2 separate regions of the Homo sapiens genome follow, and region 1 is linked to region 2. The links are contacts of gene promoters, found by promoter capture Hi-C in human tissues and cell types (Jung and others, 2019). All regions are on one chromosome and are shown on one strand. The core of a region is centred on a gene start or on the middle of the fragment in contact, and the rest is flanking DNA. Distances in the headings are between cores, read along the strand shown. Region 1 overlaps LOC107986638 (a long non-coding RNA gene). Region 2 holds the start of HS3ST5 (heparan sulfate-glucosamine 3-sulfotransferase 5).

The links. Contacts are between HindIII fragments. The study calls those that stand out against the background at their distance.
Region 1: a contact is called between a fragment that was not itself captured here and the fragment with the promoter of HS3ST5 in region 2, in 1 of the 25 tissues and cell types used here (aorta).

Annotation. Positions count from the first base shown.
Region 1 is chr6:114,395,568-114,399,209 of GRCh38, forward strand. All of the region lies in intron 3 of LOC107986638 (a long non-coding RNA gene), which reads left to right. Among named protein-coding and RNA genes, the nearest start is that of HS3ST5, 54 kb to the left of the region's middle. RefSeq lists a silencer at 2,978-3,272. The HindIII fragment of the contact is 3,500 bases long and covers 1-3,227 here.
Region 2 is chr6:114,341,296-114,344,937 of GRCh38, forward strand. It overlaps HS3ST5 (heparan sulfate-glucosamine 3-sulfotransferase 5), which reads right to left and starts at 1,728. Exons shown (of 5, transcript NM_153612.4): 1 at 900-1,728. It overlaps LOC107986638 (a long non-coding RNA gene), which reads left to right and starts at 1,030. Exons shown (of 8, transcript XR_002956366.2): 1 at 1,030-1,094. The HindIII fragment of the contact is 10,455 bases long and covers 1-3,642 here.

The DNA of each region.
Region 1 (3,642 bases), core at 228-2,727, 54 kb after region 2:
TTCTAAAAAAGTTTAAAAAATTGTATTTACACTTTTAAAAGGAGATTTATTTGAGAAACATAAAAACACAACAAAACACTTCCTAGGCCATTTTACATAAGAAAATAGGCAATAATAACATGCATATTTTTGCAAGCATTAACACTTTGGCATACTAATGACAGTTGCATGGGTATAACAGTTATAAGCAGTCAAGTTGTATTCATATAAATAGGTCAAAAGTGAAATATATACTATAGTTGGTAATTACGTGTGTCTAGCTTTATAACTTTGGTCATATGAAACATAATGACAGACAACATAAATCTTGTCTTGGCGAGACTGTTGGAAAACCATGATGAGATACTGTCACAAATGTAATCACCCAAAGAGTCAAGATCTCAAGAAATTGTATCTTTCACAAATGCAGATCTACAAAAAGGACATTTCTTCATTTAGTGAGGAAATTTCAACATTTCTATATAAATGTGCAGTGCTTATACATAAAGTCAACATTGTGATAATGCACTTCAATGGAATCAAATTTGCAGCATAAAACAAATTAGAACTCTCTAAAAGTCTCCACACAATTTAGATCTCTAATATGGGATATGATGTGAAGATGAAATACATAGCATAACAAATTGGCGCTATGTGTGAAGAGGTAGAAGTTATATGTGATTGGATAATTTGGCTTGGAGGACTTCTTGTATTTTTCATCTGTGTTTTTACTTCTGTGATCTGTATTTGGACAGTGGTTGTGGTCTACAAATTTTGTAAGTATATGCAGTCCATCTGAAAGTCTGATTATTGCTTGGCCTTTGCAATTAAGGGATTTTCAGCTTTTGCAGCACCAATAATAATTAGCTTTTAAACTTTTATCTTTCACTATTAAGAAGCCTCATACACTTAACTTATCACAGCCTTTTTGTGAGGGAACAATTTCACAGATCTCTTCCACTGTGTTGTAAGGAATACAGTAGCAGGAATGATACTTGGCTTCCTCAACGCCAAGTGTGTATTAGTAACGGATCTTCAGAGAGACTCAATCAATAGGATATGTATATAGATACACAAGAGGGGATTTTTAGAAGAATTGGCTAACATCTTTATGGTGGCTGAGAAGTCATAGCACAGGTCGTCTACAAGTTGGAGACCCTGAGATGCTGGTAGTGTGGCTCAGTCTAAGTCTAGTAACCTCAGAACCCAGGAAGCTGGTGTAAGTTTCAATCTGAGGTCAAAAGCTTCAGGACCCAAGAAACAGCTGGTGGAGGTCCTGGAGTCCAAAAGTCAGCAAACCTAGAATTCTGATGTCCAAGGCGGCAGAATAAAAGTCTTTTCAGTTTGGGAGGCTGAGGTGGGTGGATCACCTGAGGTCAGAAGTTTGAGACCAGCCTAGCCAACATGGCAAAACCCCATCTCTACTAAAAATACAAAAATTAGCCAGGTGTGGGGACACGTGCCTGTAGTCCCAGCTACTTGGGAGGCTGAGGCAGGAGAATCACTTGAACCTGGGAGGCAGAGGTTGCAGTGAGCTGAGATCACGCCACTGCACTCCAGCCTGTGGGTGACACAGTTGGACTCTGTCTCAAAAATAATAATAATAATAATAATAATAATAGTAAAAAGTATTTTCAGTTATCAGAGAGAGACCAATTTACCCTCAGCATTTGTTCTCTCCAGGTCCCTGTCTGATTGAATAATGCCTACCAACTTTGAGGGCAGGTCTTCCCTGCCTAGTCCACTCAGATTCACACCCTAATCTCTTCTGGAAATACCTTCACAGACACATGCAAAATAATGCTTTACCAGGTTTCTAGGCATTCTTTAATCCAGTCAACTTGACACCTAAAATTAAGTCCACAGGTTGGCGCACTGTCAATTTAGCACTCATATATAACCCCTTAAACCAAGCTTGTCCAACCTATGGCCCATGGGCCACATGAGGCCCAGGATGGCTTTGAATGTAGCCCAATGCAAATTGATAAGCTTTCTTAAAACATTATGAGAATTTTTGTGATTTTTAAAAAAATCTCATCAGCTGTCGTTAGTGTTAGTGTATTTTATATGTGGCCCAAGGCAGTTCTTCTTCTTTTAATGTGGCCCAGGGAAGCCAAAAGATTGGACACCCTTGCCTTAAACCATACTTAATTTCCAAATAAAGACAATAACAAGTTAATAGCTCTACCTAACATAATGCAACTATTCTGTGACTGTGAATTTCAAGATTTTAGACATTGGGGATTTTAGACTTTAGAAATTTTGATCTTTTGAGATTTCAACATTTGGGATTATGGCATTTAGGATTGTGTCTTTTGGGATTATAATCCAAACCCCCTTTGGGCAAACTCATTTAACACACATTCTCATAAGTCTGTATATATTTAAATAAGGTTGTGACATGAGTATACAACTTTTCGTTGAATAAAGATACAAACTGATTCCCTTATATCAGCAAGTCATATAGATTCTCTTTGTCAGAAGATATTTACAATTTTAATTTTTTGCTTTATAAATTCTAGTAAGAGCTTCTGGCCTTTCTTGGCTGTGAGTTAAAAAACTGACTTCATAATTCCTTCCTTCCTTCTTTTCATTCTTCCATATGTCTTTTTTCTTTATTTTGCTCTTCTGCCCCCCACCATCTTCAGTCCACTCAATAGCCAGTTCCTACTCTAAAAACAGCAAATGGAATTACAATAAACTAATATACTTAACTTGTCTTGCAGAGTCCACTGCGTCTTTTGGTTCATCATTATTTTGTGCGTAGAGATTTTTGTTTTTTCACCGAATATAATTGCGTTGACTTCCTACCAAGTGGTATAATTCTCAATTCTTTCTCACACATCTCTTTCTTACACATTTAGAAGTTGAGCCCACACCCATTCTCTAATCATCACAGCTGACGTTCATTTGCTGTTCTCTCGTTATTTCAATCATTTGCTTCTTGGGTTTTAGAGTCTGTTCATTTTTTTTTTTTTTTTTTTTTTTGCTTGACCAAAAGAGACTAGAAGGCTGTGAGTTGTGGCTCTTCTTACGAATTGCATGTGCTTAGTTTACTGTTTGTATTAACATCTCACCTGGGAGGCAGAGACACATGAAAACAAGATTCAGAGCTCTAAGGACATTACTGATGATGCAAGCTGATACAGACAGGAAAATCAACAGAGCCCAGCAACATCAAAGCAGCACTTGCTCTTTGGTCATTTAGGAATTGAATCAAGAATACCTAATGTTAAATGACGAGTTAATGGGTGCAGCACACCAACATGGCACATGTATACATATGTAACAAACATGCACATTGTGCACATGTACCCTAAAACTTAAAGTATAATTTAAAAAAAAAGAAAAGAAAACCTTAAAAAAAAAAACAATGGGGTCTCATTTTCTTTTTCGTTACAAGTTTTACGAAAAAGTTATATGAACCAATATTGATAAATATTGAAAATACAGATTGATTTTCAAAGTTTGACAGGAAAATACAGAATCTTTTTCTGGCTAAAAGCAAACCAAGTGACTCAGTTTGAAAATGGCCTGAAGAGAGAGTGCTGTCTTTCTCCTTCTCCTTTTCCTTCTTCCTCCTTCTTCTCCCTCTCTTTTTCTTTTGCCTCCATTCACTTTTCTTTGTCTTCCATATCTTTTAATCTTTTGCGTTAAAAGAAA
Region 2 (3,642 bases), core at 478-2,977:
AATGTGAGCATCAGCTCCCTTGGGTGGGTGCCCTGAAGCACTGAAGTAGGGAAGCGGAAGAGTAGAGGAAACCCACCAAGGTGAAGTGACTCCGGAGTTGTTTGTTTGCTGGGCGCTTGGAACCTCCAGGTAAAGACATCCACCTTAAGCTGGACGCTCCTTGCAGGTTGCCCTAAACCAAGGTGGTCGCCCAAGTAACAGGAGCAGGAGTCTCAGCGCTCCAGTGAGTAGCGACAGCGACCTCTCAGACTTGTTTGTAGTAACAGTATGACCACCCTTCGACTGCATCCATCCCGCGCGCGCGCGCGCGTGTGTGTTGGGTGGGAAGAGATGCATAAAGTGGGGCTGTGAGGGGTGTGGGGGGGGCCAGCTGGGAAGAGAAAACCCCACCCACATGTTAACTTAGCCTTTGCCTGTTCTTTGCCTGCCCTCTGCCTGTCCTCTGCTGGGGCCTCGCAGGCCCCCACTGTCCCAAAGCTGCCCTCGCGCTCCAAACAGCTCCACAGCCACCCCAGAAGTGACCGAACGCGAACCCCTAAACTCTGGCGAGCGCAGTAAACGCGTGTTCCCTTTCTCCCTCAAAGAGAGCGCTACCCAGCGCTCTGGGAGAGACTGAGAGAGAAACAGACAGGCAGGCTGACTGACACCTTCTGTCTAATTTTACCCCAGGAATTGCCCCCGCCGTTTCTCATCTCGCACTAGTTTAACCTCTGGTCCTAAGCAAACCTCTCAAAAGTCTTCCCCAGGCAGCGCCCAGGAGAACCGAACCCCACAAAGTGCTTTTTTGCTGGCATCACCCGGATGCTTCCCTTTGGCGATTTGCCCCTTCTCATTTCCCCCCAAATCTAGAGGTCTCAAAGCCCCTCCCCCGCGCGAGGCGGGCAGCGCGCCTTGCTCACCGTGGTCCCCGGCGGTGGCGGCGCGGGCGGGAGCCTCAGGGCGCGGGGGTCGGCGGCGGGTCGCGTGGGGGTCACCCGGCCGCTGCTGCGGTCCGGACGGCAGTTGGTCCAGTAGTTTCGGATGCCCGGGCTAGGCTCGGCGGAGAGCGAGTCGGCGTGAATGAGAGCAAACCAACAGGGCTGTGCGTGGCGCGTGTGAGTAAGACGCGAGCGGGCCCCACACGCAGGCGGCGGCGGCGGCGGCGGCGGCGGCGAGGTCTGAGGCGGGGAGCCGGGCGGGGGGGCAGGCGGGCGAGAAGTAGTGGAGTTTAGGGCGCGTTTCCTGCACTTCCCCGAGAGGCTGGAACCAGGTGCGGCAGGGCGCGCTCCCGTGGCGCGGGCACGGCACGGGCGGCCGCAGGAGCCGGAGTCCGCGCAGTGCCGGAGACCGCAGCCGCTCTGCGGGGGGAGGTGCGCATCCTCCTTGCCCCACGAGGGCACCGGCGCAGCCCCGGACCCTGCGCGCAGAGGGCGAGACTTCGGGCGTCCTCGGTGACAGCTCCTCGGGCAGCCCGCTCCCTCCCAATCCGCCCAAAAGAGCAACACTCAGTGTGACTGGGATCTTCCCTTCCTGCGTCCTCGAGCCTCCGGTGCCAAGCTGTGCGGGCGCCCCGCTCCCCGCGGCTGGCGCTGTCACGGCCGCCGCCCGGCCCCCAGAGCGCCCGAGCCGGCAGCTGCCTCCCGGAGACGTGCCCAGCTGTGTGCGCGTGTGTGTGTCTAAGCGAATCTCTTCCCCTCCATCACTTGGGCGCGCAGGAGGGACCGGGTCCCTGGCGACCAGCTGCAGAGTGGCTGCCAGTCCACACCCTCCCGGCTCTCTCCCCACCCACCCCGCCCCTACTCCTCCTCGCCTTCCCCTCCTCCCCGTGCTCCTCCTCCAGCTGCCGCTCCCGAGCTCCCAAAGGCAGCGGAGAAACCGCAGCGAAAGGGAGGAGGAGGAGGGTGGGGAAGGAAGCGCAGGTGTCTTCGGCGGAGAGACGGGCGCACGCACCGGAGCGGCTTGCTGCAGGGGGAGGGCAGGGCCTTAGGCGGAGAAAGGGGAGGAGGAGGATTTACCCGGAGGCGGAGGTCCCGCAGCTGAGCCACTGCGCGTCCCACCCAGGCGCTGGAACCGCGGGCGAGCAGCGCAGTGGGGCTGCCGGGTGGGCGCGCAGGGCTCCCAGTTGGACTGAGGTCGCAGCTTGGGGAACCTGCGGAGGTGACCAGGGTGGCAGAACTCGGGGACACAGAGGTCGGAGGGACCCAATTGCTGAGGCGCTGAGACCGGTCTCTCTGGGGTGAGGGGGATGCCTAGACCCAGAGCTTGGGGCACACAGGTGTCCAGGAAGCTGGTGTGTGTGGCTCCAGAGTGCCAGGCGGGAGAGCCGGAGGCGGTGAAGGGTCGGGCGGCGGCCGCGGCGTGCTTGGGGCTGCTGTGTGCATCCGGAGTCACAGGGGGCGATCACCGCCTAGCTGGGAAGCGGAGCTCAGGACTCAGCCTTCTTTCAGGTCCCAAGTCCAAAAGCCGAGAGGCACACTAGCCTTCCCAATTTAGTCTGTGTTCCTCCAACCCTTTGCCCCCAGCAAAACAACAGGCCAGGAGCTGATTCTACCTGCTACTTACTGTGCTCTTTACCGGACTGAAAGGACTCTACTGCTCCAAGGAGACTGATGTGTTGCTTCCTCTCTCCCAACTCTAGTCCCCTCCCTCAACATACATTCCTACCCAACCAAAATTATCCAGAACATTGTATTTCTCATTGATAAACTTTTTCCCTCTGGGGTTCCCTAAAAATGAAAATCTTTCCTCCCTTTTTATCTGTAGAGGCATTAAGTCTCTTGCTTACATTTCATAGTACAAATGCAGTACACAGAAAAGTCCTTTAGGCAAGAAATCACAGCATTATTGCTTATGACGGCTTGTCTGTTTTCAAATGACAGTCGCAGAATGCAAATTTGTGTCAACCTGAGGTCAGTGGAGAGAGTTGGTCCATTTAATTAGAGGTATTTTGGAAGGAATCTGGGAAACAACACTAGAAAGAATTGCTGTACTTTCTCCAGTACCCATTCCTTTTTATTATGGTAATTTCACTCTGTTAATTTAGGCAATCTGAAAATGAAAGGTCGGATGCAATTTACAAGGCACAATATTTCTAGATTCTCATTCAACAGCCCGCCCCACCTCCTTCCTCCCACCACTCTTACCATCACCTCAAAAGGTCATGAGCTAAGAACCGAAACTGCACTTTTTAAATCTCAGGATATAGCCTGAATGACAAAGCTGTTGAGTTTTAGAAAGAGACCAGTTAAGTCTAAACTTATTTACCAACTACTCAGACAAAATCATATGCTCAGCAGCAACAATAAAATGTATACTGTGTAATATATTGAGCAGGAGGAAAGATGGCTGTTTGCCAGATATGTGATCCATTAACCTCTTTAGCTCATTGTTGGCAACAATAGCATACAATCACATTCCTATGTTTGAAAGACAAGAGATTTTTTTTTCCCATCTTAAAATCACAATGCCACATTATAGTCTAAAAGAAACCTCAAACAATAAAAGTAATAAGAAAGGAAGAAACATGGTTTGTTTTTTTTCTGAACAAATGTTGCTGTTCTGTTTTTTTTTCTTGAGGGGAAAAATGCTGATAAGCAATAAAGTCCACAAAAGCATGACAATAGATTTTGAAGAATGCATCACTCCATCTATTAGTCCTTTCAA